Linked DNA regions of Homo sapiens: all the other regions are linked to region 4. Evidence: promoter capture Hi-C in human tissues and cell types (Jung and others, 2019). All regions are on one chromosome and are shown on one strand. The core of a region is centred on a gene start or on the middle of the fragment in contact, and the rest is flanking DNA. Distances in the headings are between cores, read along the strand shown. Region 1 has its middle 72 kb from the start of LINC02866. Region 2 has its middle 59 kb from the start of SIRLNT. Region 3 has its middle 39 kb from the start of SIRLNT. Region 4 holds the start of ZMAT4 (zinc finger matrin-type 4).

What was found. Contacts are between HindIII fragments. The study calls those that stand out against the background at their distance.
Region 1: a contact is called between a fragment that was not itself captured here and the fragment with the promoter of ZMAT4 in region 4, in 2 of the 25 tissues and cell types used here (dorsolateral prefrontal cortex and mesenchymal stem cells).
Region 2: a contact is called between a fragment that was not itself captured here and the fragment with the promoter of ZMAT4 in region 4, in 5 of the 25 tissues and cell types used here (IMR-90 fibroblasts, bladder, dorsolateral prefrontal cortex and 2 more).
Region 3: a fragment that was not itself captured here is called in contact with the fragment with the promoter of ZMAT4 in region 4 in 3 of the 25 tissues and cell types used here (IMR-90 fibroblasts, bladder and mesenchymal stem cells).

Annotation. Positions count from the first base shown.
Region 1 is chr8:40,030,154-40,033,392 of GRCh38, reverse strand. No RefSeq gene overlaps it. Among named protein-coding and RNA genes, the nearest start is that of LINC02866, 72 kb to the left of the region's middle. The HindIII fragment of the contact is 6,298 bases long and covers 1-3,239 here.
Region 2 is chr8:40,283,061-40,286,364 of GRCh38, reverse strand. No RefSeq gene overlaps it. Among named protein-coding and RNA genes, the nearest start is that of SIRLNT, 59 kb to the left of the region's middle. The HindIII fragment of the contact is 7,039 bases long and covers 1-3,304 here.
Region 3 is chr8:40,302,752-40,306,111 of GRCh38, reverse strand. No RefSeq gene overlaps it. Among named protein-coding and RNA genes, the nearest start is that of SIRLNT, 39 kb to the left of the region's middle. The HindIII fragment of the contact is 6,520 bases long and covers 1-3,360 here.
Region 4 is chr8:40,896,538-40,899,826 of GRCh38, reverse strand. ZMAT4 (zinc finger matrin-type 4) reads left to right here and starts at 2,001. Exons shown (of 7, transcript NM_024645.3): 1 at 2,001-2,144. The HindIII fragment of the contact is 9,161 bases long and covers 1-3,289 here.

The sequences.
Region 1 (3,239 bases), core at 563-3,062, 870 kb after region 4:
GCACTTTGGGAGGCTGAGGTGGGCGAATCACTTGAGGTCAGGAGTTTGAGACCAGCCCGGACAACATGGTGAAACCCCCCCCCCGCATCTCTACTAAATTACAAAAATTACCTAGGCTTGGTGGCATGTGGCTGTAATTCCAGATACTTGGGAGGCGGAGGCGGGAGAATCGCTTGAACCCAGGAGGTGGAGGCTGCAGTGAGCCAAAATCTCACCACTGCACTCCAGCCTAGGCAACAGAATGAGACTCCATCTCAAAAAATACAAAAACAAAATTAGCCGGGTGTGGTGGCGGCCACCTGTAGTCCCAGCTACTCGTGAGGCTGAGGCAGGAGAAGGGCGTGAACTTGGGAGGCAGAGCTTGCAGTAAGCTGAGATCGCACGACCGCACTCCAGTCTGGGAGACAGAGCAAGACTCGATCTCAAATATATATATAATATATATATAAATTATATATATAATAATAAAGTACATGAACATGTGCATAATTATTTATTATATGATTATATTATGTCATGGCTGTGTGCTCAGTTGGTTCTCAAAAAGCCTGGTCATTCTAAGGGCAAGTCCCGTTAGCCCCAGGACTCTGCTTTGTGAAGAGAGATATAACCTTTGAATGTCCACGGCAGGGTCCCATGGCCCACTGCAAATGATTTCTGACACAGAATATAGGTAAAATCTCTTAATGGTGCTGTTAGGAAGGAAGAAAGGTGCTTATGGACAATTAAAGGCAAATGCGTAATAGAGTCTGGTCTGATACCTCTACAGCTGTCACAGAAGCATGTGGTCCAAAAGATTTGTGAGTTTACAAAGGAAATTACTTTGCAAAACAAAAGCATTTATTTTTGATGATGCTTACACTCAAGAACTCAGTTTTTTAATGTTACTGTGAAGCAGATGCTAAACTGCAAAAATTAACTAGCAATTGCATTTCAGAAAGCAATAATATCCAACTCCTTTATTAAGTTAACTGTTAAGTGAACAAAGAAAAAGAAGAGTATTTCTTCCATTAGCAAAGCAAATAGGACATCTGTGCAGAAGACAAAATTTGGTGGGTAAAATTCATTGCTGTGGAAGCAATGAATGACTTGTAGGTACAAAAAGTTTTGTATTCCAGATCTTAAATTGAATAGGATCTCACAGTTTTTAAGAATTTCTTTCCTTCTCTTTTTTATTCTTTGTACATTTACTTCCTTTCTTTTCTTTTCTTTGTTTCTTTTTTCTTTTTCCTTTTTTCTTTCTCTTCCTTTCATCTTTCCCTCTCTCTTCCCTCTCTCCTTCCCTCCCCCCTTCCTCCCTCCCTCCCTTCCTTTCTTCCTTCCTTCCTCCTTTCTTTCCTTCCTTCCTCTCTCTCTCTTCCTGTCATTTTCCTCCTTCATTTCTCCTTTTTGATTAATTTTGTTTCACTTAACCCTGTTTTGGAGACACCAAAATGCAAAAACAAAGAATGAATTTCAAAGTAACAGCAAGGGAAGAAGAACTCGGTCTATGAGCCTCACTGTCTTGACTTTCTGCTCTGTAAGCTGTGAGGTATTTGGGTTCCAGTTTGACAGGTCCCATCACCTAAAGTCAGCCCAGAGATCAGGATAGTATTGAGCCTGAGAGCACCACAGAGTGAGCATTACATGTTATCAAGCTGTTATTTCTGTAGTGTTTTTTGTTTGCTTGCCTTTAAAGTCACCCCGAGTTTTTATTAAATTCTCCTTAGAATTACTACAGAAATCAGCCTGGCATGGTGGCTCATCCCTGTATTCCCAGCACTTTGAGAGGCTGAGGTGGGCAGATCACTTGAGCTCAGGAGTTTGAGACCAGCCTGGCCAACATGGTGAAACCCGTCTCTACTAAAAATACAAAAATTAGCCAGGTATGGTGGCTCATGCCTGTAATCCCAGCTACTCAGGAGGCTGAGGCAGGAGAATCACCTGAACCCGGGAGACAGAGGTTGCAGTGAGCTGAGATTGTGCCACTGCAATCCAGCCTGGGCAACAGAGCAAGACTCTGTCTCAAAAAAAAAAAAAATTACTACAGGGATCCTAGCTGGACTCAGGCATAACATTAAAGGGAATCAGTGTCCCCTTGTCCTCAGCAGTGGTGAGTGGTGGCAGCAGCCAAGGTGAAGGTGTCTTGTGTACTAGCTTTAGGAATATAAGGCGTGGTCACCTCTTCCTAGGTAAAGAGTCACCCTACATTCCGTACTTCAGAGCATTGAGTTTTACTTTTTTTATTTTTTCTTTGAGACGGAGTCTTGCTCAGTCACCCAGGCTGGAGTGCAGTGGCATGATCTCAGCTCACTGCAACCTCCGCCTCCCGGGTTCAAGCAATTCTGCCTCAGCCTCCTGAGTAGCTGGGATTACAGGCGCCTGCCACCATGCCCGGCTAATTTTTGTATTTTTAGTAGAAACGAGGTTTTACCATATTGTCCAGGCTGGTCTTCAACTCTGGACCTCGTGATCCACCCGACTCAGCCTCCCAAAGTGCTGGGATTACAGGCATGAGCCACCGCGCTCAGCCTGAGTTTTAGTTTTTATTATGAGAGGCAATGGTTTTGCTCCACAGGCATTACCCAGCTTAGAAAGCCTTTAGTTGTAAACTAAGTAAGGTTCGTCTGCGTGGAGTTCCCCACTTCTCTCTCAGAAGCTTCTATCCAATCCATTGCTGCCTTCCTTCTGGGCGTCTCTTAGGGGACAGCTACACTCTTCACCATTTTTGACCTCCTCTCCATCATTATGAAAGGAGGACTCTTTTTCTTTGGGAGAGGCTGTAGGGAGAGTGTGTCAGATGCCATAGCTTATCCTAATTCAGGTTCTTCTTACGGACCCCAGTGATGATTAATTTTAGGTCAATTGGCTGAGTCACGGTGCCCAGCTATTTGGTCAAACGTTCAGGATGTTTCTGTGGGGACATTTTTCTTAAAGGAGATTAACGTTTAAACTGATGGACTTTGAGTAAAGCAAATGGCTCTCCATAATGTGGGTGGGCCTCTTCTAATCAGTTGAAGGCCTGATAGACCAAAGACTGACCTCCTCTGAGCAAGAAGGAATTAGCAATTGTTTTCTATATGCCAACAGCGAACAATGTGAAAAAGAAATTTTAAAAAGTAACCCCATTTACAATAGCCATACCTAAAAATAAATACTTAGGAATCAACCTAAGCAAAGAAGTAAAAGATTGCTATAATAAAAGTTATAAGACACTGAGGAAAGAAATTATGAGGACACCAAAAAATGGAAAAATATTT
Region 2 (3,304 bases), core at 551-3,050, 610 kb after region 4:
GGCCATCTATGTGCTATAATGTTTTATATTTAAGAAGTCTTCAAAAATGTTCAACAAAATTATCCAAAATATTTTCGATGTGAAATCAATGTAAATAATTACTGTTATTTGTTAATGAGATAATTAACATTTTTTCTTCTATAATAAATCTTCAAAACCCAATGTCATAGTAATTTAAATTACCCATAATTCGGCCAGGCGTGGTGGCTCACACCAGTAATCCGAGCTTTTTGGGAGGTCGAGGCAGGCAGATCACCTGAGGTTGGGAGTTCAAGACCAGCCTGGCCAACATGGTGAAACCCAGTCTCTACTAAACATACAAAAAATAAGCCAGGCAAAGTGGCGCACGCCTGTAGTCCCAGCTACTCAGGAGGCTGAGGCAGGAGAATCACTTGAACCCGGGAGGCAGGTGTTTCAGTGAAGTAAGTTCACACCACTGCACTCCAGCATGGGCGACAGAGAAAGACTTCAACTCAAAAAATAAAATTTAAAAATAAATAAATAAATTACCCATAATTCAAATGCTCAGTAGCCACATCTGGCTAGTGGCTACATATTGGAGAAAGGGAACTATACAATGTAACCTTGCTCAGTCGTTTCTTATTTTGTGTCTGACTTTCTTCTTTCTATTAGACTAAATGCATTTATTATACTTTTTTCTCTCCCACACTACCTCTGATGTTTGTTTGGATGTTTATTTTACTCCAGGTTTAACCAGAAATTTTTTTAAAAAGGGAAAAAAACCAAAACAAATAAACAGACACTGTTTAGAGTAAGAGTTAAAAAACAAAAACACTGAGGTACAAATTAAATAATTTACAGACTAAACCTCAAATCTTACCTGCAGATGTACAATTCTACCTTGGATTTCTTCCGATCATCCTAGAAAGAATTTAGACTATAGAGAATCTTAGAATGTAGCACATACTCATATGATTTTTTAAAGTCATTAATTTGACCAACTTATGAAGCCAAAAGGTCTCTCTACCACAAGGTAGCTAAGGTTTATTGAAGCAATTCAGCACAACTTATTTTTTATAGAGACTACTTAACTGAAATGACTGAAAGGATGTTATGTGCCTATAAATAAATCTATAAGAAGCAACAGTGCATGTAAGAGAGTAAGTTGTGGGAAGAACCAGTGCAGTTACCAAGTGAGATTAGATAGAAAATAAGTAGGACATTTCATGATCTATAGGATAGGATGTATTAGGTGTCAATGACAAATGGTTGTCTACAGCCATCTAAGTTACTGATGGTAATGATCCTAAAGTCTTTCTTTCTATACTAAACTACCTATAAATATTTTGTGAAAGGCTGGTTAATTATGCATAAGTGAGAAATCTGTTACAAATTTATCTCATGTGTGAGACACCATAATTTAATATGAGATAGTTGGGGATAATGTTAAGACTTTTTTTGAAAAATACACACATTATAAATCTGCTCACAAACGAAAAGAATATCCCAATCTTATACCAGTCTCAGGATCTGTGTCAGCATAAAATGTGGACACAGAGCTTCCTATAGATGCATATGAAGTCCTTCCTAGTAGAGAGGACTTGGTAGAGCACATGGGCTTTGTTCAGGCACCAGGAGCTTCAAAGCTGGTTTTTCCATTTACCAGCTGTGAATCCCTGAACAATCAAGTTAAGTGAAGTCTGAGGGTTTCTTTGTTTGTTGTTTAAATTTCTAAAATTGGTATAATAATAGTAAGTCCCTCCTACACATGGTTAGCTTGGCATATAGTAAGCACTTGATCTATGTTAGCTATTGTTGTTAATGATTTTAGGAACAAGGAAACGTTTTTGGCTACTTCTGAAAAGTCAGCAAAATCTCCTTATTCGTACTTAGAAAAAAGAACAAAATACGTACTGCAGTGGAAGTGGACAATACACATGAGCACATCATATAGTTTTCTGCATCCCTTATTTTGCCTTGACTGCCAAAACATTTCCTTAAACTGACAGATCCATGAAGATATAAGGACCTAATAGGTACATTTCAATTATCTCTTTAAAATTTTGAAACTAAGCATTACATCTTACCTTCCATCTTTTTATTTAAAAATAGAAAGAAGCAGAATAAACAGATGACATTTACAGTCATTCTGCATTGGTGTTCATCTCAGCGCCTCATCTATGGTATTGACTTACGACTTTTTCTTATTTTTTATTTATTTATTATTTTTTTTTTTTTTGAGACTGAGTCTCACTTTGTCTCCAAGGCTGGAGTGCAGTGGCATGATCTTGGTTCACTGCAACCTCTGCTTCCCGGGTTCAAGCAATTTTTCTGCCTCAGCCTCCTGAGTAGCTGGGACTACAGGCATGCACCACCACGCCCAGCTGATTTTTTGTATTTTTAGTAGAGAAAGGGTTTCGCCATGTTGGCCAGGCTAGTCTTTCAGGTGATCCACCCGCCATGGCCTCCCAAAGTACTGGGATTATAGGCATGAGCCACCGTGTCTGGCTGACTTTTCTATCTCAGCATTGTTTCTTAATTATGCAAGAATCATGATTTTGTTGGAATCTGTAAGCTATGTGAAAGATACAGATAATTATATCACATACATATACATCTGAAATCAGAAAAGACCAAGAAAGTTTGTCCTATAAAGTAATTAACTGTTTTGTTCTTTATGAATTAAATTAACAATCTATTTTTCAACATATACAGTCTAGCTCATTTTTCTATTTGTAGCCTGATTTTTTCCTCAGACTGCTGTGTAGTAAAGGATAATTAGAGACATTTACACTTATCATCCCAGCAAGAACATTGCTTTTGCTGCTAAGGAAATAGTCCAATCCAGTGTGATTTATATTTGCATAATATCCTGTTGCAATATTGAAAAACACTTTGCTGACAAACAGAGGAAGGTATTGAAATTGGGGTTTATAGAAGGGAAAGTGAGGTTATGAATAACCACTGTCAAAAAAAAAAAAAAACCTGTTACTTTATTCTATCAGTTTGCTCCAATGAAATTAAGCCTATTTTTTTTTTCCTTAGAAATGATTAACACAAAATGGAGGTAACTCTGTCAAGTATGTGCTGTGTGGCATTATTCAGACACCCAGCTGGCTTCTTAAGTCAGTGTTCTACTTTTTATCTGGTTGGGTGTAATGCCAAGGAGAAACAGCATTTTAAAATTCAATTTTGCCTTCTCGACCTCCTGTGAATCAAGAGTCAACCAAAACAAGTCTTGAAAAGCTATTTTTTACAAAGCAAGGACACATTTCCACAGGAAAATAAAATGAAATGTATAATCATTATAAAATACCTCTGTGCCCAGCTTAAAAAACATGTT
Region 3 (3,360 bases), core at 838-3,337, 590 kb after region 4:
GCCTGGGCGACAGAGCGCTCAAAAAAAAAAAAAAAAAGTATACTTTTATTTGGAAATAAAAGTATTAAGTTGATATTACTTGGAGAATTATAATAAATTTTCCTAAAAGTCTGTCTTTGCTATAGCGGCAGGAGTCTTTTTTCTTAACTCATTACCTGCTTTTCTACCAGCTTCTAAATTGTATACTATATATTCCTAAGGAAGGCTGCAAGAACAACCCCACTCCACTCACTGCTTTGTTTATAAATCCAAAGACTTCTGGACAATTTGGATGCCTGGTCTTGGGGCTTAGAATCCTCTCTGTAACTTCTGCCAAAACATCACAAGAGAAAGGAAAAGATAATAAGAAACCATCTAAAGACAATCAAACCACCATTAATCCCCTACTCTTTCTACACACAATAAACATTAGCTGTAGCTCAATTAAAAGCTACAGTTCACAGATGTTCACAATAATGATTGCCCTGCAATAGCATTCTTCTCATTAAGGTGTTTTGGAACCCTGCATATGCCGCCAACTCCTTCCCACCAGGGAACTGGGAAAGCGAGAAAAGCACAGGTACCAGGCATGCCTGGAATATGAAGCAGAAGACAGCTGCCCGCTCTTTCCAGAAAAGGTGCCTCAGCAGGATTTATCATCATGCTTTTTGCCAACACATCACCCCCTGCCCCCTCCTTGAGTCATTAACAGTAAAAATACAGGAGAACTCAACAGAGGCAGAGACCAAAAATGTGTCCCTGGAGCCTGGAGCCTGGAGCCATCTGGAAGAAACACAAGATTTCCCTGCGCCTGGGTGCTGCTGAACAGGAGCCAGCTTGGCTTTCACATGGAATGTGCTTTTCTGTCTTGTTTCTTCAGGTGCCCCAGACACTTCAAGCTATGTTTCCTTTGGGGAAATTAGTTGCATAACAGGGATATGGAAGGTACTGGAGAGGAATTTGAAGTAGTTCATTTGTATATAAAGTGCCAGTAGCTAGTACCCCATTCCTTGAAAAGTGAAGGGATGGTGAGCTGAGTGAGTAAGGTGCTTAAATCTCAAGAGACCGACTGTGTTCCACTTTCCCACCAATCAGAACTGAGCCTGCAGTGTACCCAGCCTGGGTCCTCCTGTCTCCTGGAGCTAGAGTGCGGCATTTGTAGGCAAAGTCATAACGCCACCTACGCGACACACACTGAGATTCTTTACACTATGGATGTGGCTGTAGTTACCATCTCACAATAGGTTTTTCCTTTAACCTGAATTTCATACTAATAAATAGTTCTGCCTCAGGAGCCTTTGGCAAAAATTATCATCAGCCTCATTGTGAAAACAGCTTTTCTTTTACAGAAGTAACCTGGCCAGGCGCAGTGGCATACACCTGTAATTCCAACACAGTGGGAGGATCTCTTGATGCCAAGAGTGCAAGACCAGCCTGGGCAACATAGTAAGACCCCTGTCTCTATAAAAATTTTTTTTCATGTTAAAAGAATTAAAAAAAAAAAACAAGTAACAAGGCCACTTCAAGACTAGGGATCTCAGCTCTAAAAATCCAGGGACTTCCTGGCCAGGCCTGATCTGTGTTGATGTTGAGAGGGGTTAATTTATTGGAATAAAATGATGCAGAAGCACAGAAGTGGGTCTGGAGCAGGAACATTGAATCAGGCGTTCTCAATCCACATAATACCTGGTTTCTGATTAGCTCAGTCACCACCCTGTCTTCTGTGACTGATGGGTAAGACTCTCCTAAAGGAATCTTTTAAAAAATAATCTGACAAGAAGGGCTCAAGCTTCCTATTATCTCTTCAGAGATTTGTTATTGTTACTAAGTGTAATGGGATGAAAACCTTCCAGATTCTATAAGACCAGATTTGAAAATCCAGTATTGCAACTACATCTAGGAAAGAGAAAATGCCAGTGCTGAATTAATTTGTTGAAATTAGGGATTGCCCTGTCTTCAAAAGAGACTATCAACCCAAGTATTTTTTTCAAATGTTTAAGAACAAAAGGAATTTTCATGGCAGAAAAAATCTAAATCTGGTTGGAACAGCTTTGCTTAACTTTTAACTAGGTAGTATAGTAGTGTTATTGTTCTAATAATTATCCCATTGCCTTGCAAATAACTGAGAGTTGGGACAGATAAAATAGTTGTAAGAATTTCTTTTAACTCTGTGTAGCATTTCCCACCCAGATTGGCATTAGGCACACTCTGCTGTTAGTGCTTCTCTCTCAAAACTGTGTCCCACTTGTCATGACACCTGCACCTTCATCCCCAGGAAAACACACCAACATACACATTCAAGGCAGAGTCCCTTCTGGTATGGTTGATCCTTAAATATGACTTCTTTCTCGTTTTCTTTTCCCTCTCTCTCTTCTTCACCCCAAACCATGTCTCTGACCCTGTCCCATTCCCTCTAGGACTTGCGCAGCCACAGCTGTGGGGCTAAAGACCGTGAGGACAATCGCTCTGTCCTTTCTGCGTATTCATCACAGAAGTAGAACTTGCTGCGTGCATATGCTGAAGGGAAAGAGTGCTTGCTGTGGGATTGTATCTCTGTAGGCCTCCAGTCTCAGGGACTTTTTCAGAAGGTCTGAGAGGTCAAAACTATTTCTGGGTAAAATAAGCATTGAAAGTCCAAGATGAGCAATGTATTTTAATATAATGGAGTGAAGAAAAAAGTGCATTTAAATTCTTTCACACTGCACTGTCATTAACCACTGGTAACTTACTTTTAAGAAACTACCATTTGTCACATTTTGAGGGTAGTATCAAAGAGGAATATTCTAAATTATCTGAAAATATTGCTAATATACCCCTCCTTTTTCTGACTACATGTCACTGTGAGGCTGGATTTTCTTCAATCAAAACAACATAACACAACAGATTGAATGCAGAAGCACATATAAGCATCCAACTGTCTTCTATTAACATAGACATTAAAAAGATTTGTACACATGTAAGACAATGCCACTTTCTCAACATTTTTGAAAAAGTTATTTTTTCATTAAGACATGTTATTTATTTATGTTAACATGAATTTACTATTATGTTAAATAAGTAAACATTTAAATTTTTTTTCAGCTTTAATTTCTAATATGGTAAATATTGATGGATATAACCCATATCAACAAAACCTTTTTGGGGTTCTCAGTAATTTTAAAGAGTGTAAAGAAGTCCTAAAACCCAAACATTTGAGACCCACAGTTCGAGAATATCTCTAGTCATTGCATCTTGACACCCAAAGCATTGGGCCTAAGGGTCACCCTTTCTGCTGTCCCAAGAGTTATCTCTGGTCTTACCTATTATTTTTGAGCAGTGCCTTGAGAAGAATTTCAGTCTGTTTGTAGGCCCCACTGCAGCTAATTCTGTACCTAAGACCTT
Region 4 (3,289 bases), core at 752-3,251:
TTGGGTTATAGGTCTTGTACTTATTGATTTATAAAAGCTCTTTCATTTTAGAAACATTAATAATAAATATTTTACCTAGTTAAGAAAATTTAGCTGCCAAGTGATGTCTTTTCCATATGGTGACAAATACATTAAGGAGAGGGGAAGGTCAAAATTTGTGCTTTATGATTTCTTCTTAATTTTTAAAAATTTTTAATTTTATGGGAACATAGTGGGTGTATATATTTATGGGGTACACGAGATATTTTGATACAGGCATGCAATGTGTAATAATCACATTAGGGTAAATGGGGTATCTGGCACCTCAAGCATTTAGCATTTCCTTTTGTTACAAACAATCCAATTGTACTCTTTCAGTTATTTTAAAATGTACAATATGTTTTGCTGACTGTAATAACCCTGTTGTGCTGTCAAATACCAGATCCTATTCATTCTATCTAACTCTATTTTTGTACCTAGTAACCATTCCACCCCCGCCCCTTCCTAGCCTCTGGTAACCATCATTCTATTCTCTCTGTCCATGAGTTCAATTGTTTTAATTTTTAGCTCTCACAAATGAATGAAAACATGTGAAGTTTGTCTTTCCATGCCTGTTTTATTTCATTTAACAGAATGTCCTCCAGTTCCATCCATGGTGTTGTAAATGACAGGATCTCATTCCTTTTTATGGCTGAATAGTACTCCACTACGCATATGTACCACATTTTCTTCATCTAATTTATCTGTTGATGGACACTTACATTGCTTCCAGATCTTGTCTATTGTGAACAGAGCTGCAATAAACATGGCAGTGCAGGAATCTCTTCAAGATACTGATTTCTTTTTTGGGGGTATATACCTAGCAGTGGGATTGCTGGATCAGATGGTAGCTCTATATTTAGTTTTCTGACAAACCCCAATACTGTTCTCCATAGTGGCTGCATTAATTCACATTCTCACCAGCAATGTAGGAGGGTTCATTCTCTTTTCTTCACATCCTTGCCAGCATTTGTTATTGCCTGTCTTTTGGATAAAAGCCATTTTAACTAGGGTGAGACTTTATGATTTCTTGGTGAACAAGGAAAAGTGTTTAAGCTGTCCCCACCCTTTGATGGGTATGTTCTCTCTTCACGTGCGTAGGTTGTTGATGAAAGTCTAAGCGATTAATTTAAGCCATGTCAGAATAAACCAAAGTGAGGGTCCCAGCAGAATCATTCACTCTAGAATGCTCGGCTTTCTGGACCTCCCAGTGAGAACAGTGAGAAACTCCAGAGTTTTATGGATTTTAAGAATAGCTCTTCTGAGACTCTTTGGACAGGGTGCAAAGGAAAATTGTCTCCTCAGGTTGGGGGATGAGGGGGACTGTGAGATAAAGTACTGATAGATAAACTCCAGGTATGCACCTACTATGCTCCCCAAGCAATCTGCCATGTCCTTCACATGTCCTCCAGGGTGGCCCTGTGAAAAGCATTACTCCATCCCTTCAGCCCTCAACCTTGCTCGGCTTTCTAGAGTCTGTCTCATGCCGGCAGACACCCCATAGTTATTATTCTCTCTGCCCTCAGCAACATTTACCAGTTAGGGGGAAAATAAAGCCAGAAAATTGTTGCTATGGGCTCTGTTTTGTGGAAGTTAAAATGCTAGAGCAAGAATCTGATTGCTTGATAGCTCCATCTCTCTCTCTCTCTCCCTCCTACCCTCCTACCCCCCCACAGTTTCTCCTTCTTTTCCTCTCCCCTCCACCTCCTTCCCCCACCCCGCTCCCCCACATTTTCCTACTCCTCTCCCCTCTCTCCACTGGCCTCCCGGTCCTGCCCCCACATTGGGCTGGAGGAGAGCCTTACAGGTTGTCAATGAAACATGGAATTATTTCCTTTGATGGCTTAGATAATAGTAGGAGCCAAAGCAATGAGTGAGGTCGGCTGAAACCAATGCAGTCCTGCCCGGGACTGGAGAGCCAATCGCAAGAGCAGAGGGCGGGGCGTCGGAGCCAGCAGATAATTGCTAAGTGCATCGCTAGCACAGTTGGTCCGAGCTGCCGAAAGGTCTGGTCGCAGAGACAGGAACGTGTAATCCTCAGCGTGCTCCAGCCCACAGCTTCGCTCTACTGCTCGGCAGGGCAGCTGGCCTCTGGGCACCGGCGGCCCCTCTGCCTCGCGGAAAAGGTACCTCTGCCTGCGTCCCGGGGGTGCAGCGCCTGCGTCTCCATTGCCAGTGGCTTTGCAGTTTAGCCTAGGTGGAGGGATTGCAGAAAGAAAAGTTTCTGGGAGGGAATGTGATAAAGGTGGGAAATCACTGTCTTTTGTTGGGAGGAAAACAAGCGGACAATTTGGGAAACTTCTGCGCTGGCAAGAAATGGGCTTGTTTACTACTCCTAATTAGCTGCGCTCAGGTCTGTCTAAATAGGTCTGGTCTCAGGCTAGGGTGTCTGCAGGGCTGGGGTGGAGATTCGGGTGTGCTGGGTGAAAGAAGTTGGATCCCAGGGTGTGCTGTTTCCTGGTGCACCCATCATGGATAGGCTGGTTCCGAGAGAAACGTGATTGGTTGTTTGTGTTTTCCGCTATAGGGTCTGTCCCCTTCGTATTACCTTGATCTGCCTTCCCCAAACTATTGTGACCTTCAACTGGAGTCCTTCCTCAAACTTCTGCCTCCTTCCTGCCTGTCTCAGTTCATTTTATTTGGTGGAAGGAGACATTCCCCGGGGTGGGTGGGTGAGGATGGTCTATTCTGTTTGACCTGGTGGGCACCTACGTGACAACTTGGTGACACGCCAGCAAAACAGTTCTCAGAGGAGAGGAAATCACATAATTAATTAGCTCCCGAAAACTCTGGAAGACTTTCCAGGCTTGGGGTATCCTGAAAAAAAAAAAAAAAGAAAAAGCCAAAAAACGGGATAGAGAGTTCGGTTTGGTACCATGTGAAGCTTACACCCTTGTCCCCAGAAGGGGTGCCTGGCCCGGAGCATCCCCGCAGCTCTGGGAGGTGGAGGCTGGTGGAGGGGGTGGCTCCGTGTAGGTGCGCAGGTTGTTTTGGTGCACAGGTGCATTTGTGGCAGAGGTGGTGCTGAAGTCACCATCCACACTGCTTCTGCTAACTGCTCTTGAAGTAAAACAGCTCACCCCGGCAGGCAGCTGGTTCAGCCCAGAAGCACCCTTGAGCATTCTAAATCGCGAGACCTCAGGGGCCTCTCTTGCTCTGAGACCCTTGGGAAACTCCTTTCTCCCCCTGCCTCCTCCGCCTTTGGCTTCTGCTAAAGGGAGATATTAGGTAGGTGAGTCACTAGGAAGCAGGGACCCATGGGGAAGCAGGC